Regions from separate parts of the Homo sapiens genome. Here region 2 is linked to region 1. Evidence: promoter capture Hi-C in 16 types of primary human blood cells and fetal thymus (Javierre and others, 2016). All regions are on one chromosome and are shown on one strand. The core of a region is centred on a gene start or on the middle of the fragment in contact, and the rest is flanking DNA. Distances in the headings are between cores, read along the strand shown. Region 1 holds the start of MTCL2 (microtubule crosslinking factor 2). Region 2 overlaps MTCL2 (microtubule crosslinking factor 2).

What was found. The method cuts DNA at HindIII sites, captures the fragments that hold promoters and counts their contacts. A CHiCAGO score of 5 or more calls a contact.
Region 2: a contact is called between a fragment that was not itself captured here and the fragment with the promoter of MTCL2 in region 1, in 2 of 17 cell types (M2 macrophages and endothelial precursors). The highest score is 5.0, in M2 macrophages.

What each region holds. Positions count from the first base shown.
Region 1 is chr20:36,860,069-36,867,152 of GRCh38, reverse strand. MTCL2 (microtubule crosslinking factor 2) reads left to right here and starts at 3,615. Exons shown (of 15, transcript NM_080627.4): 1 at 3,615-4,495. The coding sequence starts at 3,809. RefSeq lists silencers at 1-64, 2,906-3,795, 3,866-4,015. The HindIII fragment of the contact is 4,947 bases long and covers 1-4,757 here.
Region 2 is chr20:36,799,050-36,805,316 of GRCh38, reverse strand. MTCL2 (microtubule crosslinking factor 2) reads left to right here. Exons shown (of 15, transcript NM_080627.4): 10 at 415-582; 11 at 2,210-2,461. Among named protein-coding and RNA genes, the nearest start is that of DSN1, 28 kb to the right of the region's middle. The HindIII fragment of the contact is 7,378 bases long and covers 1-5,064 here.

The DNA.
Region 1 (7,084 bases), core at 2,366-4,865:
GGCACTTCGCAGCCCAATAGGGTACCACAACAGGCCCTGGAATTGGGCAGCTCTGGGTTCAAGTCAATCCCAGCCCTGCCACATCCAAGCTGTGTGACCTTGGTCACACATTCCAGCTACCCAGTGTTATGTAACAAATGACCCCAAAACTTAGTGGCCGAAAACAACAATACTTATTTTGCAGTTTGGGCAGGGTTGGTGAGACAGCTCATTTCTGCTCCACTTGTCCACTGGGGCAGCTCCAAGTCTGGGGGCTGAATCATCTGCAGGCTCACTCTCTCACATGTCTGGTGGTTAGTGGGGACCAGAGCTGGAGTTGTTGGCTAGATCACCTTCATGCGGTCTCCCCATGAGGCCTGGGCTTCCTCCTATCATGGTGGGTGAGTGGCCAGAGAGACAGAGAGAGAGAAAGAGAGAGAGAAGCAAGCTGGGTGGAATCCATGTTGCTTTTTATGACCTAACCTTGGAAGTCACAGATGAACACTTCTGCCATACTCTGTTGGTTGAGACAGTCACAAGATCTGCTGAGATTCAAGGTGGGGGCACACAGTGCCCCCACACACGTGCCGCACACATGTGCCGCTCAATTGGAGGAGCATCAGTGTCACATTGTAAGAAGAGCAATTGGGATGAGATATACCCTTTGGAAAATATTAATCAGTCACAAGAAGTATCTTCACCTTTTGGAGATCCTTTACTGAAATGTGGAGCACAGAGCCCGGCACACAGGAAGAGGCCACGCATCACACAGCTGCAGGATGTGCCGGCGCAAGGACGGTCACCCCGTCTACAATGTAGCCAGTTCTGGACTCTCAACAAGTCTTATCTCCTTTGTGGTATCCCTGGTCTGAACTGACCCTGAGTCCACAGCCCCTACGTCAGCCCCACCTAGTCCCTCCCCACCAGAGCCCTGTTGTTCTCAAGGCTTCCCTGGGTCTACAATGTAGATTCTTGACTCCCCAAATCCAAAGCACCTCAGAGCAGGTGGGACCCACAGGCCCCTCCCTGGCCAGCCATGAGTGTTGGGCCCAGAGAGGATAGGTGGTAGAGCCAGGACTCAGATCCCTGCCCTAGAAGAGAGATGCAGGCCACTCTAATCTCAGGACCACTGATGTGACCAAGGGTGTGTCAGGAGTGGCTGAGCCAGCCTGGTCTGCTATGTCCCTGCATTCACACCACCCAACACCTCCAAACCTATGTTCTGCACAGGGGCAGAAACTGAAGCACAGAGAGAGGACACACTTTCCAAGAGCTTCACAGCATCTTTCTGTGCCAGACTAGATGCAGCCTACTAGAGCCAGGGGCATCTGAGCTGGATGGACCCTGTCATCTGTTACATTAGACCAGAGCAGGTGGGGACTCTGAGGCCCGGAATGTGGGAAGGCCTGCCCTGGGTCACTAGCCTGCGGCTCCCACATCCTTCTCCAGCACTCCTGCCCACATGCCATGCCACCCTGTTTGTGCTGAGTCTTTTGTGGTCCCCCCCAACACACACTGTGTGCTCCATGAGTTCAGGCACTGACATGCCCACCACTGCGTCCCTCAGTGTACCTGGCGCCTGTGCAAACAGGGTTTGTGGACAGTCAGTGGGCCGTGAGGGGAGCTGGTGTCTTGCTAGGAGGGGGTGGGGATGCCCCTGCGGAAGTGTTTGCCAAGAGCCTGCTGAGTGCCTGCTCCTCACTTGGCCGTATGGAGGGCACCTAGCGTTGGGGTGGAGGAGCACTCACTCACCTGGATCCAGATGAAGTCATGCCTCTGGAGAGAGGGGATGCCCCAGGAGTGTATTCACAGCGTGTGGGGGAGGTGGGACAGAGACAAAGAAGTGGACCTGGTGCCTGCTGTGTCACAGGCAGGTGCAGAGGTGAAGGAAGGGAATTGGGGGAGGAAGAAGAAGGAGAAAATGGGCAGGAGGAAGAAGAGGGGAAAGAGGAGGAAAAGGAAGACTTGGAAAAGGAGGGGGGAAAGGAAGGGGAAAGATGGGAGAAGAAGGAGGAAGAAAGAGCAGGGGATAAATGGGAGGGGGAGGAGAGAACAGGAGGAGAAAGAGGTTGTAAAGGGGCAAAAACAGCCCTGCCCTTCTGGTGGCAAGGGGTGTGGGGCACCCTAAGGACGAGGGTACATCTGTGGGGCAAAGCACTCAATCCAGCTCTGCCCTGCGGTGGCTCAGGGATGGGGGCGTAGCGGCCAGGCGGTGTGGGGGCTGGGGAAGGTGTGAGAGACATGGGAAAATCAACACGGCCAGGAGCCAAGGAGACGCCCAGACGCCCGGGAGGAAAGAAAACACGCCCATCAGAGCTCAAGTCCTCCTGCACTGCTCCTGGTGGGGACGTGTGGGGTCAGGGCAACCGTCCCAGCCCATGCCAGCCCCCACGGGGGCCAAAACCGCCTTCCAAAGCATCCGCTAGGCTGACATCTCGTAATAGGTCCCCTCCATTTTATTTTTGTTTTTATTTATTTGTTTATTTTTTTGAGATGGAGTCTAGCTCTGCCACCCAGACTGGAGTGCAGTGGCGCGACCTCGGCTCACTGCAACCTCCGCCTCCCGGGTTCAAGCGATTCTCCTGCCTCAGCCTCCCGAGTAGCTGGGATTACAGGCACGCGCTACCACGCCCGGCTAATTTGTGTATTTTTAGTAGAGACGGGGTTTCATCATGTTGGTCAGGCTGGTCTCGAACTCCTGACCTCGTGATCCACCCGCCTCGGCCTCCCAAAGTGCTGGGATTACAGGCATGAGCCACCGCGCCTAGCTACGGGTCGCTTCCATTTTAGCCGTACAGAGCCTGAAACCCGGGTCGGGGGCGCATGGGGAGAAATATCCGCCGGTCAAGGTGCGCGAGCCAGGCATGCACACAGGGCTTCACGGTCCCTATGCCAGGAGAGGGAAGCCGAGGCAGGGGGAGCCCGAGCGCGCCCGGGAGGTGTGAGCTTTGGGTCCCATCGGCGCCGCCTAGACCGTGAGCTTGGCGCGTGCACCCCAGGCTTCAGTTTACGCATCTGTGCGATGGGATCGCGGCTCCGGCGATGCCGGCTAAGGGGGCGGAGTTCGCGCACGCTCGGCACGGGGCGAGGGGCGAGGCGCTGGGCGTGCATGGATGCGGGTTCCTGCGAACTGAGGTCCGCCCGGCCTCGGCCCGGGAGTCCCGGCTCCCGCCGCTCTCGCAGGCCCTGCCCGGACGCCGGGCGCAGGGGCGCCTCCGCCGGGTGCCTTCCCCGAGCGGGCAGGGGAGGAGGCGGCGGAGCGGAGGAGGAGGGAGCCCGGGCCGCGGCTGCCCGCGCCAGCCTGACCCTCGAAGGGGTCGCTGTTGCCTCGCAGATCCCTCCCTCGCTCCCTGCCTGCGTCCCTCCCTGCCGCTCCCGCCGCGTCCGCCTTTTGTTCGCGGAACCGCGCGCCCCCGAGCCGAGGCGGCGGGGCGGGGAGCTGGCGGGGCTGCGCGGGGGGCGGGCTGCGCCGGGCGGAGCCGGGGCCCGGGCCGCAGCCGGACTCGGAGCCCGAGGGAGCGATCGGCGTGCGGGCGGCGGGGGCCCGGGCGCGCTCCGGGGGCGCGGCGAGGCCGAGGGGGCGGGCGCCGGGCGGAGCCGCAGCCGGAGCCGGGGCGCCTGGAGGCGGTCGGGCCGCACTCTCCGAGCCCAGAGCAGCGGAGAGACCGCGCGGCGGGGCTTGGGACGGGGACGCGGTGTCGGGGCCGAGGTGGGCCGAGAGCAGCCGCAGCCCCAGCGGCCGGAGCCGCGCCGGGTCCCTCCCCAGGGACGTCGAGGCCGGGCGGGCCTGGGCCATGCGCGCAGCTCGCTGAGGCCGAGGGAGGCCGCGATGGAGGCGCCGGCGGCCGAGCCCCCGGTCCGGGGCTGCGGTCCCCAGCCCGCGCCTGCACCCGCGCCTGCCCCGGAGAGGAAAAAGAGCCACCGCGCGCCGTCGCCGGCCCGGCCCAAAGACGTGGCCGGCTGGTCGCTGGCTAAGGGCCGCCGCGGCCCAGGCCCGGGCTCAGCAGTCGCCTGCAGCGCCGCGTTCTCCTCACGGCCGGACAAGAAGGGGCGCGCAGTGGCTCCCGGGGCGCGCGGTGCGGGTGTGCGGGTGGCCGGGGTCCGCACCGGGGTCCGTGCCAAGGGCCGTCCGCGCTCGGGTGCGGGGCCGCGACCGCCACCGCCGCCCCCCAGCCTCACGGATAGCAGCTCGGAGGTGTCGGACTGCGCGTCGGAGGAGGCGCGCCTGCTGGGCCTGGAGCTGGCGCTGAGCAGCGACGCCGAGTCCGCGGCCGGGGGCCCGGCGGGGGTCCGTACGGGGCAGCCGGCCCAGCCCGCGCCCTCCGCGCAGCAGCCCCCGCGGCCGCCCGCCTCCCCGGACGAGCCGTCGGTGGCCGCGTCGTCGGTGGGCAGCAGCCGCTTGCCGCTCAGCGCCTCGCTTGCCTTCTCCGACCTCACCGAGGAGATGCTGGACTGCGGGCCCAGCGGCTTGGTGCGGGAGCTGGAGGAGCTGCGCTCGGAGAACGACTATCTCAAGGTGGGGGCGCCCGGGTAGAAAGGGAGGTCGCAGGGGTCGCCGGCTGTCACAGTCCCGCGGGCCTGAGGCACCAGCCGGCCCTCCTTCCCACTGAACAATCCGGAGAAAGGGGCCCAAGCCCTCTGGGGACCACTCTGAGGTGGATCTGGGGCTCCCTCATTCCCCCCGCCCCCTCTCAACTTTATTTGGGAAGCGCGCTCCTGAAAAAGACCTTGGAACTGGCTACAGGGCCCTAACCTGGGAGCGGGGACTTGAGAAAGCTTTGGAGCGTTCTGGGAGGCGTTGCTGAGGTGGGGGTGGGTAGCCAGGGAAGGGATGGATCTCTGCCTTCAGCTGCCCAGAACCTCCACGCCCAGGCTCTCCTTCTTGGGACGGGATTGATAGACACCGCCGCCAGGGAAACCTGTGGCCATCCCCTGCCCAGGAAAGGCCTGAATGCCATCCTGAGTCGTTACCCAGGGCTTTCCCGGGCGCAGGCCTGTCTCTGCCTGCCTTTCTGGGCGGGTCCAGTTTGAAAGCATGACATCTGGGAACATCCCCTTGGCTGGAGTCCACTTCCGCCCAGCCTAACGGTCCCACAGCCTGGAGGATGATGTCGTGGGAGAACCGGTTCAGAGGCAGCTTCCTAAATCCCAGGACAGTGTCTTTTGCCCTCCCTGGGGCAGACCTTGTGCACACAACAGCCCCATTGGCCCCTCGTGGCCAGTGCCTTTCCATGTTCGCAGTGAGAGGAGGGCAACTGCCCACCTGGAACAGGACTTCCCTGTGGCCATGTGGGGACCCTAGGGCTTCCCCCGGACAGCAGGCTTTGCCTTTGCTTTTTCAGTGGACATGAGCACCTACTGGGTGCCAGCCGGGCTCCATCTGCACGCTTCCAGGTGCCATGGCAGCTTTAGGGACAGCCCAGCTTGCACGTGTTGACCTCTCCCTGGGAGGCTGGAAGCTTCCTGAGCTCTCCTGCCGCTGGCTGGGCACGGTTTTGGAGGAGGCTGAAATGTTGCCGACTCTTGTCAGTGGATGATGGCCTGGCACAACACCCAGAGTGCCCCTGGCTGTGGAGCTCACAGCATGCTGCTGGTTTATGTCTGCCCTCAGCACTTAGGTTTTAACTTTTCCTTGTGGCTCTTCTGACCAAATGGGCTTCTCCCTCATTAGAGTGTTGGTGTCTTGCTCAACTATGTCTCTGTCTCCCCATTTTCCCCGGGATCTGCTCTCCAGCCTGAGTTCTGTAAATGCTTGTAGTATGGAAGGACAAGGTCTGTCTGAATCAAGAGACACCTTTCCCCAAGCCAGGCCTCAGTCTCCTCATCCGTTAAATGGGAGGATGTCTTCCCAAGGGCCGGGTTCGGTGTTGGCAACTGGGAGTTCAGTCGGCTCTTTGAGTCTTCAGAAGCCGGTGGTAAGGAGAGGGCAAGTGGAAGGTGAGGAGGAGGAGGGAGGTGACGAGCCAGGACAAGGGTCTTTTGCTCCTGCCCTCTTGGTGCTCTGAGCTGCTTCCAGTGAGTGCTGCCTGAATTGGCCTTAACCGAAACTCTGAGTTCCTCACCCCTGCCTCCCGGTTCCTGCTACTCACTCTGGTGAAGGGGGATGGGTTGCAGAGCTTTGCTTCAGGGCTCCTAGGCACCCATCTCCATGGGCCCCTGTCCATCCCAGGAAGTCATCAGGCTCTGACCCAAAGTCTGTTTGAGGCACCCATGACTGTTTAAAGGGGAAAACAGTCCCAGGAGGCTGGGGGTTGAGCCCGGGATCTCACAGGGGCCGGGGTCCAGCTGGGGACATCCCACGTTTGGGCCAAGATGGAACCGTAATTTCCACCATTCATTCAGTGGCTCAGGCTTCGTGCTGCTATTGGATCTGGGGTCTGTCGCTTCCTGACGGCGTGATCTTTGGCAAGTTACTTAAAGGCCCTGGACCTTTGCTTTCTCATTTGTAAAAATGGGACAGTAACACGCTTTCCAACCTCAACGGTTAAATGAGCTGATTCCTGCAAACACCATTAGAGCACCTGGTATGTAGTAAACCTCTGATCACTGCTCTTGTCAGAGGCACGGGACATGTTTCCATGTGCACCCAGCCTGTTCTCTTGTGGATTCTGTGAGGGCAGAATAGATCCTCTTCATCACCCAAGGCAGGCTGGGCTCTTTCTCCTGGCCCCTCATTGGTTCATTCGGCAGCTGTTTATTTAGAACCTGCCGTGTGCTAGGGCAGATCTGGGATACAGCTGTGGACAAGGGAGGATGAGGTGTCTGTTTTCATAGAGCTTTTGGGGAGACCAGAATTAAACAATAGTCATACAAGAAATCACAACACAGATCATAATGAGGGTAAAGGGGACAGTTTGCCAGGAGCACACGAAGGTGGGGGCTGGGGTGCACAGGGAGGCTGAGGGCTGCAGGATGCCGTGGAGCCAACTGAGTGAGGGTCTGGAGTAAGAAGATTTCAGGCTAAGGGAAATTGGAATGCTCGTTGAGTTCAAGAACAGCGCTAAGGCCAGAGAGGGGAAGGAGTGTGGGTAAGAGAGGAGAGCAAGGCCAGCCCATGCCACTTCTCACTGTGTACATTTGGGTTAGTCCCTTAACTTCTCTGTAT
Region 2 (6,267 bases), core at 126-2,625, 60 kb after region 1:
AGAAGATTTGGGACAGAATCAGGCAAACTGAGGGAGTCTCCATGAATTAGACCCCACATCTGGCCTGCAGCGGGTCAGAGAGGCAGATCCTGAGTGAGGAGAAGGACCCACGGCACAGACGCTGCAGAGCCTTGAAGAAGCCAGATGATTCAGCTCAGAGTTAGGCTGAATAATTATTACTGTAACTGCAGGGTTTTTTCTTGGTGTCAGATTTGGGCCTCATGTCAGCCTAGGAGGTAGCCAGGGCTGGGCCTGTCATTCCCATTTTATGGGTGAGATGACCTAGGGAGGTTGTGGGACTTGCCTGAGGCCTCGTGAAGTCCCAAGCTGGACTCCTAGGTGAGTTCTCTGAACCCAGGTTCCCCTCCCTACCCCACAGAGGCTCTTGACTCAGGTTTTGCCTCCTGTCTGCAGCCCAATGAGTACATCAAGACACTGGCCGACATGAAGGTGACGCTGAAGGAGCTGTGCTGGCTGCTCCGGGATGAACGCCGTGGTCTGACGGAGCTTCAGCAACAGTTTGCCAAGGCCAAGGCTACCTGGGAGACAGAGCGGGCAGAGCTCAAGGGCCATACCTCCCAGGTGAGCCCCCCACCTGTCAGACGCCTCTCCCCTTACTCTCAGCCAAGCCTTTAGCTGTCAGATCTGGGAGTAGAATACCAAGGCCATGCTCCTAGAGGAATAAGAATGCCGTTGCTTCACCTGTGGCCCAGAGAGGGCAAGAGACTTGCCTAAAGTCACACAGCAAGGGTATCAGAAACGGTGGGGAATGGGAGTCACAGAGGAAGGGAAGGAAGGTGGGGGATTGCGCCCTGGGCTCACAGGTGAGGCTGGTGCACATCCCCACTGCCTGCTGTCCTCATTTGCTCCTTCATTTCCTCATAAGCACTCCCTCAGCCCCAACTGCCTGGCTCTATTTTGCTCCCTCCACGCAAAATGGGGGCCTCCCCTCCCAACTCCCCAGCGTGCCCCCAAAGGAGCCTTAACCAGGAGCCCTGGGGGTTTGGTGTCTGCTGTGTGCCTGAGGGTGACTTGCTGCCTCCTTTGGCCTGAAAAGTGAGAGGGTGGGCTTCTTCCCACTCAGAGAGAATGCTCTGACCCTGCAGCTTGGGCTCCAGCTTCTTCCATCCAGCCTGCCCCTGCTGCAAGCTGCCTTCCCAGGCGTCAGCAGCCTCTGGGAGGCAGGCACTCCGATGGTCTCTGCTGGACAGATGACAAAACTGGCACAGAGGAGTTAAATTTATCTCCCAAGGTCACCCGGCTAATAAGTGTCAGACTGGCCCTTGCTCCCCCAAACCTCTAACCCCTGGCTCCCTGTGACCCCAATTCCACCTCCTTTTTTTTTTTTTTTTTTTTTTTTGAGACGGCATCTCACTGTGTCACTCAGGCTGGAGTGCAGTGGTGCAATCTTGGATCACTGCAACCTCCGCCTCCCGGGTTCAAGAGATTCTCCTGCCTCAGCCTGCAAAGCAACTGGAATTATAGATGGCACACCACCATGCCCAGCTAATTTTTGTATTTTTAGTAGAGATGGGGCTGCACCATGTTGGCCAGGCTAGTCTTGAACTTCTGATCTCAAGTGATCTGCCGGCCTCAGCCTCCCAAAGCGCTGGGAGTACTGGCGTGAGCCACCACTCCCGGCCCCAATTCCACCTTCTTCCCACTGCTCACAGTCTCCTGGCTACTTCCTGGGGCCACTACTCTCCCCTCCTAACCCTCTTCCAGATCTCACAGCTCCCTCCATCTGCATATTCCACGGTGTCCCCTGCACCTGCTGCCCCCAAAGACCTGGGCATTTCAGGTGCTCCTCCCACCAAGAACCTGACCAGCTCATGGGGGTTAATGGGGGGCATTGAGTCTAAAGGTTGCACATTCCCTTTCCTGCCACTCTGAGGTTTGAGGCCAAGAAAACCATCTTGCTGGAATGACCACTAGTAATCTTTCTGAGTTTTTATGAGGATACTGACATCATGCCTGAAAAGCCCACAGAAGAGCATGGCTTATAGAAAGAGCTCTTCAAACCCTTATTGTGTGGAGGGGTTAGGGGTTAGTTCTGAGTGGGGAGGACTAAGCTGGGTTAGTCCCTAGTGAGGGGTCTTCTGAGGGGACCTCTCCCCTTTTCCCCGCTGGCACCCAGGAGGGAAGGAGAGAGAAGGGCCAAGAGGAGTGGCCTCCTGCTGCCAGCTGCTTAGTCTGCTTCTTTCCGCAGATGGAGCTGAAGACAGGGAAGGGGGCCGGGGAGCGGGCAGGGCCCGACTGGAAGGCAGCCCTACAGCGGGAGCGTGAGGAGCAGCAGCACCTCCTAGCTGAGTCCTACAGCGCTGTCATGGAGCTGACTCGGCAGCTGCAGATCAGTGAGCGCAACTGGAGCCAGGAAAAGCTGCAGCTGGTGGAGCGGCTGCAGGGTGAGAAGCAGCAGGTGGAGCAGCAGGTGAAGGAGCTGCAGAACCGCCTAAGCCAGGTGAGGCCCACCCCTGCCAAGCCGCTTCCACCCGCAAGGGAGAGTTGCTACAGAAATGATTCAGAAGCAGGAACTCCTTCAGGTATAGCTGGATCTAGGTGCTCATCCAGTGAGGTCTGGCACACCATCTCCTTCAGGTATAGCTGGATCCAGGCACTTAGAGAATGCAGTGGGAACTAGATTTTTCTTTCTGCTTCAGCCTGTCAGGCCTGCTTTCCTCTGTGTTAGCTTTACTCTTAAACAAGCTATTCCCAAATATGGCCACTGTTAGTTTCATGCTCATATCTTACAGCTTAGCAAGTACAGTGGATTGGCCAGATATGAGTCATGTGCCCACCCCTGGAGCCTACCCAAACCCAGGAACCAAGAGGGAGGAACTAAGAGTGGTTCCCATGGGAAAATTGGGAGGCCTCCAATCAAAAGAAGGAGGAAAGGAAAAGCAATCATTGACCCTCACTCCCCATTATAGTTCACTTCATGCAGCCAGGCACCACCTACCATAGGCTGCTCTGCTCCACTCTTGATTTTGACTTTTCCCTTTCTTTCACTTTTATTTTTATTTACTTATCTATTTATTTGAGACAGAGTCTCACTCTGTCACCCAGGCTAGAGAGCACTCTCGGCTCACTGCAGCCTCCGCCTCCCAGGTTCAAGTGATTCATGTGCTTCAGCCTCCTCAGTAGCTGGGATTACAGGCGTGTGCTACCACAGCCGGCTAATTTTTATATTTTTAGTAGAGATAGGGTTTCACCATGTTGGCCAGGCTGGTCTCAAACTCCTGGCCTCAAGTGATCCTCCCGCCTCAGCCTCCCAAAGTGCTGGGATTACAGGAGTGAGCCACCATGCCCGGCCTTACTTTTATTTTATTTATTTTTATTTATTTATTTTTTCTTTGAGACAGTCTTACTCTGTCGCCCAGGCTGGAGTACAGTGGTGTGATCTCAGCTCACTGCAACCTCCACCTCCCGGGTTCAAGTGATTCTCCTGCCTCAGCCTCCCGAGTAGCTGGGATTACAGGCACGTGCCACCACACCCGGCTAATTTTTTATTTTTAGTAGAGATGGGGTTCACCATGTTGGCCAGGCTGGTCTCGAACTCCTGACCTCAGGTGATCCGCCCGCCTCGGTCTTCCAAAGTGCTGGGATTACAGGCATGAACCACCGCGCCTGGCCTTACTTTTAATTTTAATTACGTAAATCAGGACTTCATCTTTATATAATGTTCACATATTACAAAGGTACATTTCAGCCTACTCCCTCCCTTTCTTGTCATTTTTTTTTAATGAAAAAAAGTTGTTTTTTTTTTTTATGAGAGATGAGGTCTTACTGTATGGCCCAGGCTGGACTTGAGCTCCTGGTCTCAAGCCATCCTCCTACCTCAGCCTCCCGAGTCGCTGGGCCTTTCTTTCTATTTAAATTTATATTTACAGGGTTTTGTTTTGTTTGTTTTTTAATCATCAATCAAATTTTAATGTCCATTTATTTATACTTTGTGTCTTTCCTGGAGAGCTGTTCACAAGAGTATGGAGGCCTTCCTTATTCAGTGTGACTGGTGCCTGGTGTTCCTAGTGTGGAGATACTATGATTTGTTATCTACAGTGATTAAATCTAGATTGTTTCCAGTTTTTCACTATTGAAAGTTGTGACCTGAAGCTGGTTGTGGCAATGTGTGCCTGTAGTCCCAGCTACATGAGAGGCTAAGGTGGGAGGATTGCTTGAGCTCAGGAAATCAAGGCTGCAGTGAGCCATGATCATGCCACTGCACTCCAGCCTGGGCAACAGAGTGAGACTTCGTATCTAAAAAAAGAAAAAAAAAGTTCAAGTTGTGCCTCAGTGAACATCTCCACACATATATTTCTGCACACGCATGAATATTTCAGTAGGATAGATTCCTAGAGGTGAAATTGCTAAATCCAAGGGCATATGCATTTATAGTTGATGGTAACTGCCAGGCCGCCTTCTAGAAAGGCTTTGCCCATGTACCCTCCTGCCAGCTGCACAGTGAGAAGGACAAGAAGGCCCTTTTTGCTTTATCTTTGCCAGTTCCTGTGATTACCAATCTTTGAAATGTCTGCCCAAGTTAGGGTGTGAAATGCTATCTCATTGCTTTACTTTGCATTTCTCTGACTTCTACTGAAGGTGAGCATTTTTCATGAGTTTATGGATCTTAGGTATTTCCTCTTCCTAATGTTCTCTTCAGTACTTCAACAGCCTTGCAAGGTCACGTTCATGAAACCCCTTTTTCAGATGAGGAGACTGAGGCAAAGTGATTTGCCCAAGGTCATAAAGTGAGTAAGGGAGAGGACCAGAATCTGGCAGAACTCCCAGATCTGGAAAGTTCCTGGTCCTGGGCCATGCCCACTTTCCTGCAGGTAAAGAGCTCCTTTGAGGTTCACACTTGCTAGGAGGCTGTGCTTGGGGAGTGCAGGATGGCAGGCTGACTAACAAATCCCAGAACCATCCAGGTACCATGTGGAAAGCAGGTCAGATGCATGCATCTGTTTGCACCATCAAACCAAATTCCTGTCTATAAAAGAATAATTCCTTCTTATTATATTAACAACAAAATGTTTCTAAAATGATTCTGAAATTATGAAACAAGCTTCATGTCATCCCTGGGGAACATGTCAGCCCACAGGCGTGTCTTGTCAGCTCATCAGGGCACGGGTTCCATGTTCTGCTGTTGTTCTCACATCAGAGACTTGCCGGCCCTCTAGCTCCAGCCTCTTGTGTCTCTGACATTCTTCTGCCTCCTGCACTTTAAACCAAATCCCCCAAAGCAGCATTCTTCTTTACACTGGACTGACGATTAAGCCAGACTGGTGAAAGCAACAGAGTGGCTGGTGGGAAAGAGCTTCTGACCAGGAGTCCCCAGTCCTTACCTGGCTCCACCAGGTACAACCCCAGTCAAGTCACCTCTGATCTCTGGGCCTCATCTGTAAAATAAGGATGACCATTCTTGACCTTCTCATCTTGCAAGGCAGCTATGGAAATAAAGTGAGATAGCCAGAAGATTCAAAGTGCTTCTTAAGCCCACCCCTGTCTGGGGCTTGGTTTGATTCTATGGTCTTCATCTCTCATTGCTGTTTGCTGATGTTAGTGTTATTTCCCTCCTTCCCTTCCCTCCCTTCCTCCCTCCCTTCTTCTTTCTTCGTTTCTTTCTTTTCTTATTTTGAGACAAGGTCTTGCTCTGTCACCTAGGCTGGAGTGCAGTGGCACCATCTCAGCTCACTGCAACCTCCGCCTCCCAGGCTCAAGTGATCCTCCCACCTCAACCTCTCGTGCAGCTGGGAGCACACTCTACCATGCCTGGCTAACTTTTATTTATTTATTTATTTATTTATTTATTTATTTATTTATTTTTGAGATGGAGTTTCACTCTTGTTGCCCAGACTAGAGTGCAATGGCGCGATCTTGGCTCACCGCAACCTCTGCCTCCCGCGTTCAAACGATTCTCCTGCCTCAGCCTCCTGAGCAGCTGGGATTACAGGCTTATACCACCACGCCTGTCTAATTTTTTGTATTTTTAGTAGAGACAGGGTTTCTCCATGTTGGTCAGGCTGGTCTCGAACTCCCAACCTCAGGTGATCCACCTGCCTTGGCCTCCCAAAGTGCTGGGATTACAGGTGTGAGCCACCGTGCCCGGCAACTTTTGTATTTTTTTGTAGAGATGGGGTTTCGCCGTGTTGCCCAGGCTGATCTTAAACTGCTAGGCTCAAGTGATCCTCCCACCTCAGCCTCCCAAAGTGCTGGGATTATAGTTGTGAGCTGCCACACCTGGCCTAGTGTTATTTTCATTGTTGCCCT